Linked DNA regions of Homo sapiens: regions 1, 3, 4 and 5 are each linked to region 2. Evidence: promoter capture Hi-C in 16 types of primary human blood cells and fetal thymus (Javierre and others, 2016). All regions are on one chromosome and are shown on one strand. The core of a region is centred on a gene start or on the middle of the fragment in contact, and the rest is flanking DNA. Distances in the headings are between cores, read along the strand shown.

Region 1 (2,700 bases), core at 34-2,533, 330 kb after region 2:
TCAGCCAGATGTGGTGGTGCATGCCTTTAGTCCCAGCTACCTAGGAGGCTAAGGTGGAAGGGATGAGCCAAGATCACACCACTGCACTCCAGCCTGGAACAACCAGAGTGAGACCCTGTCTCAAAGAAAAAAAAAAAAAAAAAAAAAAAAAAAAAAAAAAGGCTGTGCTACTCCTTTGTAGGTTATCGTTCAGAAAAAGCCCAACACTTTGCCAGCTTCTAACATCCACCACTCCCTCCTCAACCCTCCTCAATTTCCAGCCCCCGCTTCCCACGCTGCTACCACTGCCTCAGATTCTCCCTGCCTGCCGCTCCCACCTGCCCAGCTGTTACTTTCTAGATTCTAAGCCCGATTGCACAGTCCAGTTCCACCCACCACCCCAGGATTACACTTCCCTGTTTCCCCCTCCCTCTAGCATGATCCCCAGTTGTATGGCCATCAGCACTGAGGGTCTAACCGGTCTCTTTGCAGACTGAGACGCTTGAACTCTGCCTTCCTGCCATTGGGATGCCCTCTGCCTTAGTACCCAGGGCAGAAATCTGAAGCACATGTTCAGCACTCAGACCAAGAGTGTGGGCCAAGGTACAAAACTGTCGGATTCTGTCTGGCCTTTGTGTGAGAAGGGTTTGCTGAGAAGTTTCTTCCAGGCTGAGGAAAGGCTAAATAGCTTGGGCTATCACTTAAGCTTTTCCATAAACAAACTCTACTGGAACTTCCTCCTCCGCATCTACATTATACCCTGGTTTTCTGATCCTTCATGCTGTGTCTCTCACACTCAACCCGTCCCTCTAAATTCATGGTGCCCCAAGTGCTGACTTCCTTTTGAGAACAAGGGATAAAGGAAGGGGCCTGCCTGGACCATATTCAGCTTTAAATTTGAGACGAGAAACAGTGGCACAGTCCACAGACAGAAAGTCCCAGAGAGGAAGTTCAATGACCACATCACATCATGACATGGCCTAAGGCTGACGTGGGCCTGATGGGAACTACTGTGTAAACCTCAGCTAACCTGCAGCCTCTGTTTTCTGCCATCTCTCCCACACATACCATCCAAACTGGTCCTGCTGAAATGTGCTCCTGATCCCATAATTCTCTTCTCCTCAAGGATTTCGGGGGCACTTTACTTTTTATTTCTTGGTTTTTAAATTTTACTTTAAGTTCTGGGATGTATGTGCAGAATGTGCAGGTTTGTTACATAGGTAAACATGTGCCACAGTGGTTTGCTGCACCTATCAATCCATCACTTATGTATTTATGTTTTTTGTTTTTCGTTTTTTTTGAGACGGAGTCTGGCTCTGTCGCCCAGGTTGGAGTGCAGTGACGCGAACTCGGCTCACTGCAACCTCTGCCTCCTGGGTTCAGGTGATTCTCCTGCCTCAGCCTCCTGAGTAGCTGGGATTACAGCCACGTGCCACCGTGCCCGGCTAATTTTTGTATTTTTAGTAGAGACGAGGTTTCACCATGTTGATCATGCTGGTCTCCAACTCCTGACCTCATGATCTGCCCGCCTCAGCCTCTCAAAATGCTGGGATTACAGGCATAAGCCACCATGCCCAGTCCATATATTTATGTATTAAACCCCACATGCCTTAGCTATTTGATCTGATGCTCTCCCTCCCCTTGCCCCCCGACCCCACAGGTCCCGGTGTGTGTTATTCCTCGATGTCCTCCCCTACCATAGAACCTGTGCTCCACCTGACATTCAGGGTCCCGTAGACAATGACCCTGAAACACACTCTGCTTCAGTTAGCTGGCTGAATCACCTTCCCCAGAACCCCCTGGTAGTTTCTCATCTTGGGGATTGAAATGGGATAAGGGGAAATGAGGATGAGGCATAATTGGTGCTCAGAGATCATTTCTTCCCCTGAACTCCAAGCTTTCAGCTTACAAGGACCCTCCCTTCACTCCCCTCATCACTAGCCACATTCTTTTTTTTTTGAAACAGGGTCTCACTCTGTCACCCAGGCTGGAGTGCAGTGGCTCAGTCACAGCTCACTGCAGCCTCAACCTCATGGGCTCAAGTAATCCTTCCATTTCAGCCTCCAGAGTAGTTGGGACCACAGCCACGCACCACCACATCTGGCTAATTTTTTAATTTTTTAGGCCAGGTGTGCTTACTCACGCCTGTAATCCCAGCACTTTGGGAGGCCGAGGTGGGCAGATCACCTGAGGTCAGGAATTCGAAACCAGCCTGGTGAAACCAACATGGTGAAACCTCGTCTCTACTAAAAATACAAAAAAATTAGCCTGGCATGATGGCGCATGCCTGTAATCCCAGCTACTTGGGAGGCTGAGGAAGGAGAATTGCTTAAACCCAGGAGGCGGAGGTTGCAGTGAGCTGAGATCACACCATTGTACTCCAGCCTGTGCAACGAGAGCGAAACCCCCCTCAAAAAAGAAAAAAAAGTATTTTATATAGACAGGATCTTATTATTATATTGTCCAGGCTGGACAATATAGGAGCTTGAGCTCCTAGACTCAAGTGATCCTCCCACCTCAGCCTCCCAAAGTACTGGGATTACAGGCATGAGACACCACACCTAGCCCATCATTAACCAAATTCTGGCACCTCTTCCTCACCTACTTGGCCAGTTGACACCCTGCCTTCCTTTTAATTCATCCACATTATTGTGTTGCTATTTTATATTTTTGCTCCTCTTTTCCTGCATCATTTTTCCAGTTAGATTGTGGGTGTTTTGA
Region 2 (2,700 bases), core at 1-2,500:
TCCCCTCCTGAGAGCTTGCGTCTCAACCCACCCCCACCCTGGTCACAAGACCCCTTATCTCCCAGTCACCAGGGCAACCAACTTCCCAAGGCCAGGAGGAGGAAAGCGTGGGGCGGGAGTAGGGTGAGAACTGGCCCTGGTTCCACCTCTCATCCTAACCTGGGCCCCAGCCCCCATCAGGCTTCAGTACCCTTGGGTGGCTACCTGGGGCAGCCTGGGGACCCTGGGAGCCAGGAGTCCCAGGGCTCCCTGGAGGAGGCAGATGGCTGTAATTGGCATTGCAGAAGTCAGTGCCACAGGAGCAGGTGAAGAGAGTGGAGCCAGGGCTGGGGTGGGCTCGGGGACTTGGGTCACAGTGGAGGGACTCACAGCCTGGCTCATCACTGTCTCGGCATCCTGATGGGATGGGATTAGGGGAAGAGGAGAGAAAGGGGGGGCAAGGAAGAAAGCACAATGGGGTGTGGAAACAGAGGGTAAATCCCTTCTCTATCAGAGGCGTCCCTTCCAGCTCTCATGGGCTTTTCTTTCCCACCAGATGTTCTATTTCTCCCCTTCCCCCTTGGTTGCCACCCACACCCCAGGATGTGTCTGTCTCCCACCCTAGCCATCACCTGCCATATACTTTGCCATTCACCTTGCATTTCCACCTGTGCCCGGTCTTGGGTCAGGTTCCAGATCCCAAAGCAGCAGCGGCTGTAGAGGCAGCGGATAGCTCTGGGGAGCTCTGTGCCTGTATCTAGCAGCTCTCCCAGTGTCTTTGTGCTTCCCCGCACTCCAGGGGCCTCAAAGAACACACAGGTTCGCCTGTTTGGGGGTGCTGAGGCCCAGGGTGGGGAAAGGAAAAGATTCAAGGTGGGAGTGAATGCAGAGGCAAAAAACTGGCCAAAAGAATAGACAAAACATGTTCCACATCCCAGCGTCAGTATGGTAAAGCCACAGGAGGAAGCAGGGTCAGCAGAGGCCTGGAACCTGAGCCCTGCCATGGGGACACATGGCTCTATCCTTCACCCTTACTCACCCAGCCCACTCACCACTCTTCCAAAGGGGTGGCTCTTGCTTCAAGCGCCCCTTTCCCTTGCTGGATGGATGGAGAGACCCTTCCCCTCCCTGTAGACACTTACCTTCCACAGCTGTGGGAAGTAATGCCCAAAGCCCCAAAGACCCTAGCATCTTGCTGGAGGATGGCAGCAGCAGAAGGAGAAGAGCATAAGCCAGCACAGCTGCCCCTGGCCAAATCTTTCTTCAGATACAGGGCATCCTGGGGCTTCTGATCCCTCAGTCCCCAACTCCGCCCCCCTCATCCTATCCCAGCCTCTGTGGGGGAGAAGGCTGCTGTGGGGGAGAGGGTGGGTGTGGGGAAAGCAGGGAAAGAAAGGGAGGAGCAGAGAACCAATCTCATATCCTCTTCTCTTCTGCAACCTCCTCTTTGCTCTGCATAGTGAGAGGAGGGGAACTTGGAGGCCCAGCTGAGAACCCAGTGATGCCTAATTTCAAATCTTTGCCCTTCCCTGACCTTGGAAGAAGATGCTGGACTCTGTTGACTCTTCTCAGGAGGAAACCAATGTGAGGTCAAATGCTTAGAGCCATTCAGCTCTGCCCAAGATCCTTTCTAGCCTAAGATCTCTTTATATTCAGGGTTCATATCTGCAACTGCTTGGGCAGAGGAAGGCCTCACAGCCCATATTAGAGGTTACCTTGTTTTCCAACTTAAGAATCAGAAAGTATACAAAACTTACCTGAATTTTTAAAAAACACATTGAAAACAGTAACAATGGTAAATTTTGCTATGTGGATTTTTTTTTTTTTTTTTTTGAGACGGAGTCTCGCTCTTCTCCCCCAGGCTGGAGTGCAGTGGCACGATCGCAGCTCACTGCAACCTCCGCCTCCTGGGTTCAAGCTATTCTCCTGCCTCAGCCTCCTGAGTAGCTGGGATTACAGGCGCCTGCCACCACACCTGGCTAATTTTTGTATTTTTAGTAGAGACGGGGTTTCACCATGTCAGCCAGGCTAGTCTCGAACTCCTTACCTCAGGTGATTTGCCCGCCTCGGCCTCCCAAAGTGCTGGGATTATAGGCGTGAGCCACCATGCCTAGCCGTGGATTTTACTTAAAAAAAAAAAACACATTGGTTCACAGGCTGAACAAATACCCATTATTAAGGAGGTAACAAATTTCTTATCAAGCACCTACTATGTGCTGGGGCACAGCTAGGGCTATGCATTTTACAATCATCTCATCTAATTCTCCCCTGAAATATTTATTATTATTATTTTATTTATTTATTTTTTGAGACCGAGTGTCGCTCTGTCACCAGGCTAGAGTGCAGTGGTGCCATCTTGGCTCACTGCAACCTCTGACTCCCTGGTTCAAGCGATTCTCCTGCCTCAGCCTCCCGAGTAGCTGGGATTACAGGCACGCACCACCATGTCCAGCTAATTTTTGTATTTTTAGTAGAGACAGGGTTTCACCATGTTGGCCAGGATAGTCTCGATCTCGTGACCTCGTGATCTGCCCGCCTTGGCCTCCCAAAGTGCTGGGATTACAAGTGTGAGCCACTGTGCCTGGCCTATTATTTTTATTATTTCCATTTTATAGGTAAGAAAACTGAACTTACGTAAGTCGCCCAAAGTCATTCAGCTAGGAAATAGCAGAGCTGGAATTTGAACTTAGGCAGGTCTGACTCCAAAGTCCAGGTTCTAGT
Region 3 (2,700 bases), core at 189-2,688, 300 kb after region 2:
AAAATACAAAAATTAGCCGGACATGGTGACATGCACCTGTAGTCCCAGCTATTCAGGAAGCTGAGGCATGAGAATCGCTTGAACCCAGAAGGCAGAGGTTGCAGTGAGTCAAGATTGCACCACTGCACTCCAGCCTGGGAGACAGAGCAAGACTCTGTCAAAAAAAAAAAAGGAAGAAAGAAAGAAAAAAAAGGAAATCCTGCATGCAGATTAAGATTAAGGTCATTGGACTTTGCTGAAATGCCCATTTGAAGCCTGTGTTGTAGAACGGTGGAGTGTGTGTTATGGAAGAGGAGCTCCGCATGGCAGAGCATGAGAGGAGCATGGATAGTGAGGTGTGGGGTGTTACAGAGGTCACAGACACTGGACAGCACAGATTCGGGAGGGGACCATAGGACAGCAGAGCGAGTGCTATAAGGGTCCCAGGACAGGCAAGGTGATTTAAAGAAGGGGAAACACTAGGCAAAATCAAAGGGGTGAAGGGAAGGTGTCTGTAACAAGCAGTTGGGTGCAGTCTGGGGACACACAGGGGACAACACTCGCAGACTGTAGACAGGAAGAAAGGTGGCTCTCAGCAGGGGAGGAAAGTCCTGCCGGGCAGCAGCCTCACCACCTACTGCCACCCTAGGTACTTCCCGAACCACAGCCCTCTGACCCCTGAGGATCCTGAAGGGAGGGCTGTGTGGGCACAAAGCTAATAATAAAAGGGTGTCCAAAGAGGAGGGGGGCCTGAGGCCATGCACAGATGGCAACTTCTGGTCTGACCCACCTTTACTCATCTTCAGGTGAGCCCAGTGGTGGTGTCCTGCCTGGAGTGCCTTCGGGTCCCCGCTGGTGCCTCCTCCTTAGACACACCTGGGCTCGTCAGGGATGCACCCATGAGCGTTTCGGTGGAGGAGGCGCCTGGATGGAGCTCATTCGTGTACAAGTCCCAGTACCGTGAACTAGTAGGAAGACTAAACATAAAACTAGGAGATAATTCCCTGACATTGGGTTAATTTCCTTACCATAAAAAGAATGTATAATTTTGGGCTGGGCGCGGTGACTCATGCATGTAATCCCAGAATTTTGAGAGGCTGAGGCAGGCAGATCACTTGAGTCCAGGAGTTCAAGACCAGCCTGGCCAACACAGTGAAATCCCATTTCTATTAAAAATAGAAAAAATTAGCCAGGTGCAGTGGGGCACACCTGTAACGCCAGCTACTCGGGAGGCAGAGGCATGAGAATCTCTTGAGCGGGAGGTTGCAGTGAGCTGAGATCGCACTCCTATACTCCAGCCTGGATGACAGAGCAAGATTTTGTCTCAAAAAAAAAAAGAAAAAAAAAGTAAGAAAGAAAAGAAAGAATAATTTTGAAGAAGAAAAAGGAAAAAAAGGAGGAGAAGAAAGAGGGCTTGGTTCGGTGTATGCTAAAGAAGTGGTCCCTAGATCAGCAGCAAGGGCTTGCCCTGGAAACTTGTTAGAAATGCACATTCTCAGGCTTGACCCCAGACTTAATGAATCAGAAACTCTGTATTAACAAACCCCGAAGGTAGTTCTAATGCACGATGGAGTTTGAGAACTACAGTTCTAAGGCAATTTCCACTCTATTCCACCCTCATTTCCAAACATTTAGCCATGTTGCTGCTGGAGCCAGGCTGCAGGGTGCCAATTAAAGCCTTAACTTAGGGTTAGAGGGGGGAAGTCCTGGTGTGGAGACCTGGTGAGGAGCTTCCTCACTCTCACTGCATAGAGACCAGCTTTGAAGCACCCAGAGCAGAGAGATCAGGACCATGGGAACACTGGAAGAATGTGACTCAGAGAGCCTTGGCCCTGCAGGGATGCAGTTATGATAGCTTGTTTCCCTGCCCACCAGAAAGCACAGTAGCCACTGAAAGAGATATATGATAACTTAAACAATTAGGAGCACTTAGAGATTCAAGTAGTATGAAAAAAAAAAAAAAAAAAAAAGAGGAAGAAGAAAAGAAAGAAAAAAAAGGAAAAAGAAAGAAACAACTTTTGGGAACTAAAAAAACAACACTTTCAACAACAAAAAAATTAGTATATGTATTGAAAGAGAGAATAGGCACTGCTGAGACTCAAATTAGTGGCTTGGAAGAACAAGTGGAAATAATATTTCAAAGCATGGAGCAAATACTATGAAGAGATGGAAATAATGAGGAAAATGTGATTCTTGGAGAGTAGATCCAGTAGTCCTGAAATTCAACTATATTAGTTCCAAAAGGGGGAAAAGGAATAGATGGAGGAGAAGCAATAAAGAATAGAAGAAAATTTTGCTGACGTGAAGAAATATCTGAGCTTGAAGACTGAAAGGAAACAGGAAGATACAACAAGAAAAGACATACACACAGGCATGAAACTCCCAAACTTCAAGGTTAAAGAAAAACATTTTCAAGTTTTTAGACAGAAAGAGCAAGTTATCTACAAAAGGAAACAAATCACATTGGTATGGGACTTTTCATCTGCAACACTGGAGGCTCAAAGTGGGAAAACTGAGAGAAATAAATGACTACACAGGAATCTTTCTTTCTTTCTTTTTTTTTTTTTTTTTTTGAGATGGAGTCTCGCTCTGTTGCCCAGGTTGGAGTGCGGTGGCACAATCTTGGCTCACTGCGACCTTTGCCCCCTGGGTTCAAGTGATTCTCCTGCCTCAGCTGCCTGAGTAGCCGAGATTACAGGCGTGCACCACCACTCCCGGCTA
Region 4 (2,700 bases), core at 150-2,649, 360 kb after region 2:
CTGAGCTGAGGCAAAGGGAGGGGCTGGCCGGGTATTTCCCAAGGATCAGGGTCTGGATCGGCTGTCTTTTGGCTCTGGAAATGGAGAACACTGTGTTTCCTACACCGAGGCCAGTTGGATAGAATGGGTCAAAGGCAGCTGTGGGGTCCCCCACCCAGTTCTGCAATGCTGGGTGGAGAGGGTGGGCTGGGGGCTGCTCTGCCTGGGTGGAGTCTAAACTAGTTAATGTGGATCAAGCCACACCCCTCCTGGCTTCCCGGGGAGAGAGGCAGAGGAGGAACCCAGGCTGAGCAGAGAATACACCATGAACAGAAGTCAAACAGTGTGGCCTTGGGGATGGGCTTAGGTGGTCTCCCGTGCATGCTGCTTTCCCCCTCATCCATCCCCAGTTATCTTTGGAGAGGAGGGAAGGATGGACTTGAGGTGGCGGGGCTGAGATCCAGGGCTGAGAAAGGCACCAAGCCCCTCTAGTCCTACTCTCAGAAGGGGTTAGTAGCACCCCGCTCTAAGCACCTGAGCTAAGCAGCGGCCGTCTGAGGCTGGGAGTGGGGATGCGGGAGCAGCCTCTGCTGGAGACACGCACAGGCTTCTGTGCTGGTGCAGGTGGGCATAATTCCTTTCCTGTTCAGGCAGGAATCTGTGAGAGGTGAGAGGCCGGCGTCCCAAAGCTTGCCAGGGAGACGTGGAGGAGGTCCCTAGGCAACATGTTTCCTTCAGGGCTGCAGGGGTGGGAGGGTAGAAGAAAGTCGTGAGGGGCAGTTGGGCTAATTAAAAGGAGATTAAGGAATCCCAGGTGAGGCCGAAGGTGGGGGAAAGAGGGGATGGGGTTGAGTCATCACCCCACTATTACCATGACAACTGACAAATAAATCCTCCCAGATTGGGGGTTGCCGCCCCGTCGTGCCCAGGCAGGACCATTGTGGGACTGAAGAGCCCCAAGAACCCATCAGTCATCTCCCCTATCCTACCTCCACGCCCCTACTCCAACTTGAATGAGCAATGAGGGGCTGGGAACAGCTAAGCCTGCCTCTGTCTTCATTTTGACCTCTCCTCTCCCTCACATGAAATGAGGGAGTAGAGCTGGGCGTTCTGGGTCCCTGGGCTCCCCTCAGCACCTCCCTGACCCAGCTAAGAACAGCTGTGTTCACAGCCAAGTAAAACAAGGACCTTGAGAAATTATGTCAGGCCCATCCCAGGCAGAATTGGCTTCTGAACTCACCCGCTTCCCCTGAATATCTGGGGTTGGCACCTAACTTCTGCATCCTCCCTGTCCCCATTAGGCCCCCTGAGAAAGTCATCAAGTTTCCTCTCAGCTAGTCTTGCTTCTCCTTTCCCCTGTGTTTGGGACCCTGGGCGGACCTTTCCCAGCAGGAAAGGCTGCAGGGTTTTTCAGCGGGCGAGGATGCATCTAGAGCCCCCTGGTGTGCCGCTCCCCTAGCTGTGCTGCTTTCCCCGGCCTCCCAGAAAGTGTGTGGGGGAAGACAGCGTGGGCATTCAGCAAGGGGTGCTCTCCCCTTTGCCTCCCACCCCATCCTGCTCTTCCATGCTGGCCTAGAACTTTGGGGCCACATTGTATCTCTAGGATTCTTTCCCTTTCAGCCAGGAGTTTTTGTCAGACCTGGGAAAGTGGGACCCAGACTGCCTTGGGCCCAGGTTTCCAGGGTGGGTGTCAGCCTGTCCCCTGACCCCCATCTGGCTCTTCCCCCACAGCTGCTGGAGTACTTAGGGAAGGGCAAAAGCATCGTGGATGTGGGGCTGGCCCAGGCCCGGCACCCACTCAGCACCCGCAGCCACTACTTCGAGGTGGAGATCGTGGACCCTGGAGAGAAATGCTACATCGCCCTGGGGCTGGCACGGAAGGTGGGCACAAAGGCTGAGCTTTTTTGCTCATGGAGCTGCTCAGGTCTGGGGCTGTTGGGGCAGCACCAGGAAGCTCTTAGGAGAAACCAGGGGAGCCCAGGCTTTGGAGGGAGGGTGCTAAGCTGAGATGGAACACAGTTGTATGTGTCTGCTGTGTAAGAGTACACACCCCATGTGACCAAGGACCTGAGACAGGTCATGACTGCACCACACACTAAGGCCTGGGGGGAGGGGGTGGGACATGCCATGGCTCTGGCCTTAAAAGCTTAACTAACACTTTCCTCACCCTCCCTGGTTCCCCTGAAGCCCCAGTGCCTGCAGGGTATGAGTGTGCAGGGTTGGCACTCTCTGGGCTGTGGTCTGTCCCAGAGGTTCAGATGCTACTCGCCACTCTCTCCTGTCTTGTTTATGCATGGGACCATAGATTTTCTTTTCTCTTCTTGGTGCAGGACTATCCCAAGAACAGGCACCCTGGCTGGAGCAGAGGGTCTGTGGCTTATCATGCAGGTGAATAGCGGGCTGCCTGGGAAAGGTGGGATGGTGGGAGATGTGGAGGCATAGGGACATCCACTTTCCCCTCTCCTGGCCCCTCACAAATGGCCTTGCTGTTTGCCCTGCTGCTGGCTGACCTCCCCTTCCCAAATCGCTAGTGCTTCCTCCTCATCTGTGTTTTCCTCCCAGCTCTGGAAACCAGGGGAGCAGGACAGGAGAGGGAGATCTGGGCCCAGATGGGACATTCCAGGCCTCTGAGCTGGTCCCCCCGTGCCCTTCCTGCAGACCCTCATTTCCTCATTTTCTTTTTTCTTTTGCTGCTTGGTTTCCTTGGCTTTCTTTAGAAGA
Region 5 (2,700 bases), core at 133-2,632, 400 kb after region 2:
CTGGCTCACACCTGTAATCCCAGCATTTTGGGAGGTCAAGGCAGGCAGATCATCTGAGGTAAGGAGTTAGAGACCAGCTGGCCAACGTGGTGAAACCCCATCTCTACTAAAAAATACAAAAATTAGCCAGGTGTGGTGGTGCGCATCTGTAATCCCAGCTACTCAGGAGGCTGAGGCATGAGGAACACCCTGAACCTGGCAGGCAGAGGTTGCAGTGAGCCAAGATTGCCACTGCACTCCAGTCTGGGCAACACAGAGAGACTGTGTCAAAACAAAACAAAACAAAACAAAACAAAGAGCTTGTAAATTTAAGTTGGTCTGTTTTTACTTAAACTATTTCAAACATACAGAAAAGTAAAGACACCATTATAACAAACTTATGAACCTATTACTTAGGTTTAGTGAATGTCATATTTTGCCATGTTTGTTTTTTGTTTAAAAGAAATATGTTACAGACTAAAAACAGAATTTTCCCTATCCCCACCAACAATTAAAAGGGTGGTTAAATTACCATGCGTAGCTTTATAATTTTACAACTTATGCATTAATACTACATGGTATTGTTTTCAAATTTATACACAATTTTTTTCCCCTTAATGTAACAGGTTTTGAATTTTATCCCTGTTGTTATGCTATTAAGTATTTGATTACAGACAAACCACTATTTATTTATTTTTACTAGGTAGTAGCTTCTTTCCATTTTAAAAATAGTGTGGTCTACTTTTGTGTATTTTAATAAAGTTGCATAATTTTCCCCATAAAGGTCTTTGTTAAAGTGATGTATGTAATTAATCTCTACTCCTACCCCATGATATTTCCCACTCACCTATCTTTCCGCACCCCAACTGTTTAATTATTCACACACTGTCTCTTCCCTCCACTATAATAATGTATGCCCAATAAAGACAGGATTTTCTTGTTTTTGTTCACTGCTGTATCTTGAGCATTTAAGTGAATCAATTTTTATTAGAAAAAAATTACACTGCTGTATCTTTGTTCACTGCTATATCTTGAGTATTTTTAAAGTGAATCAATATTTTTATTTTAGAAAGTTACATTTTAGGCCAGGTGCAGTGGCTCATGCCTGTAATCCCAGCACTTTGGGAGGCTGAAGCAGGAGGATCACCTGAGGTCAGGAGTTCGAGACCAGCCTGACCAACATGGAGAAACCCCATCTCTACTAAGAATACAAAATTAGCCAGGCATGGTGGCACATGCCTGTAATCCCAGCTACTCGGGAGGCTGAGGCAGGAGAATCGCTTGAACCTAGGAGGCGGAGGTTGAGGTGACCTGAGATCATGCCATTGCACTCCGGCCTGGGCAACAAGAGCGAAACTCTGTCTCAAAAAAAAAAAAAAAAAAAAAATTTTACATTTTAATTGTTTGCTACAAGCATATAGTAATGCAACTGATGGGCCAGGCGCAGTGGCTCACGCCTGTAATCCCAGCACTTTGGGAGGCCAAGGCGGGCGGATCATGAGGTCAAGAGATCAAGACTATCCTGGCCAACATGGTGAAACCCCATCTCTACTAAAAATACAAAAATTAGCTGGGTGTGGTGGCGCGCGCCTGTAGTCCCAGCTACTTGGGAGGCTGAGGCAGGAGAATCACTTGAATCCAGGAGGTGGAGGTTGCAGTGAGCCAAGGTCACGCCACTGCACTCCAGCCTGGGCGACACAGCGAGACTCCGTCTCAAAAATATATATATATATCAAAAAGTAATGCAACTGATCTTTGTATGCTGCTCTTCACTCAGCAATCATGCTGAACTCTTATTTCAAATAGCTCACTTTGTAGAATCTGTTGGATTTTTTTTTTTGAGACAGGGTCTCGCTCTGTCACCCAGTCTAGACCTCCTGGGCTCAAGGAGTCCTCTTGCCTCAGCTTGCTGAACAGCTAGGACTGCAGGTGCGTACCACCACGTCAGCTTTTTCTTTTTCTTTTTGGTAGACAGGGTCTTGTTTTGTCGCCCAGGCTGCTCTCAAACTCCTGGCCTTAAGCAATCCACCTGCCTTGACCTCCCAAAGCGTTGGGATTATAGCCACCATGCCCAGTTTGGGTTTCTTTATAAACAATTGTCTCCAAAAAAAGAGAAATGTCTGTCCCTTTGTTTGGTTAAGTTTTCAAAAAAAATTATTAATTTATCAAATTCGTTTCCTGCATCTATCAGTTCTTTCAGATACTATCCAAAATTTTTCTTAATCTGCTTTCCTCCTTCTATCTGTTAATGTGATCTGATCATCTGTAACACATTTGTCCTATTACTAAATAGCCTCCCAAAGCACAGAGGAAGCTAACTTCATAAAAACAAACTTACTGTCTCCAAAGCTATCATCACCTCTTCTAGGTGGGTAGTCATCAAAGCTGTCTGTAGCAGGACGAGCCCTCCAGTCTGTATCTGTTTTGTCAGAATCCCGATTTCTATCACGGCCAAAAGAACGATCATCCCTGTCTACAGATACATTAAAACAAAAACCGTAAGTTATCTCATAAAAACTTTGCCCAATATTTCTCACACATAGAAAACCCCCATTTTACCCTATTTTTCACTTTCACGTCACACTGTCATCCCAGTTACCTCAGGCCCCATAAGTACATGCTCCAATTCAACCCCAGGTGGCTCTTTTCCTCCCGTTTTTTCCTATTGGTTTAATGCTTAGCTATCTCAAATTCTGTATGGGCCAGGAGTCCCTGAAACAT

Evidence for each region. The method cuts DNA at HindIII sites, captures the fragments that hold promoters and counts their contacts. A CHiCAGO score of 5 or more calls a contact.
Region 1: a contact is called between a fragment that was not itself captured here and the fragment with the promoter of AMHR2 in region 2, in 2 of 17 cell types (monocytes and total B cells). The highest score is 6.2, in monocytes.
Region 3: a contact is called between a fragment that was not itself captured here and the fragment with the promoter of AMHR2 in region 2, in 1 of 17 cell types (activated CD4 T cells). The highest score is 5.7, in activated CD4 T cells.
Region 4: a fragment that was not itself captured here is called in contact with the fragment with the promoter of AMHR2 in region 2 in 4 of 17 cell types (activated CD4 T cells, fetal thymus, total B cells and 1 more); the score reaches 6.3 in activated CD4 T cells.
Region 5: a fragment that was not itself captured here is called in contact with the fragment with the promoter of AMHR2 in region 2 in 1 of 17 cell types (neutrophils); the score reaches 6.1 in neutrophils.

The regions. Positions count from the first base shown.
Region 1 is chr12:53,092,168-53,094,867 of GRCh38, reverse strand. No RefSeq gene overlaps it. Among named protein-coding and RNA genes, the nearest start is that of IGFBP6, 4.1 kb to the left of the region's middle. The HindIII fragment of the contact is 1,191 bases long and covers 688-1,878 here.
Region 2 is chr12:53,422,405-53,425,104 of GRCh38, reverse strand. AMHR2 (anti-Mullerian hormone receptor type 2) reads right to left here and starts at 1,250. Exons shown (of 11, transcript NM_020547.3): 1 at 1,122-1,250; 2 at 635-817; 3 at 205-396. The coding sequence starts at 1,170. The HindIII fragment of the contact is 5,088 bases long and covers 1-2,700 here.
Region 3 is chr12:53,126,948-53,129,647 of GRCh38, reverse strand. No RefSeq gene overlaps it. Among named protein-coding and RNA genes, the nearest start is that of SOAT2, 25 kb to the right of the region's middle. The HindIII fragment of the contact is 6,708 bases long and covers 1-2,700 here.
Region 4 is chr12:53,067,315-53,070,014 of GRCh38, reverse strand. It overlaps SPRYD3 (SPRY domain containing 3), which reads left to right. Exons shown (of 11, transcript NM_032840.3): 7 at 1,711-1,860; 8 at 2,310-2,367. Among named protein-coding and RNA genes, the nearest start is that of SPRYD3, 11 kb to the left of the region's middle. The HindIII fragment of the contact is 1,457 bases long and covers 671-2,127 here.
Region 5 is chr12:53,022,245-53,024,944 of GRCh38, reverse strand. EIF4B (eukaryotic translation initiation factor 4B) reads right to left here. Exons shown (of 15, transcript NM_001417.7): 6 at 2,318-2,452. Among named protein-coding and RNA genes, the nearest start is that of EIF4B, 17 kb to the right of the region's middle. The HindIII fragment of the contact is 3,982 bases long and covers 1-2,700 here.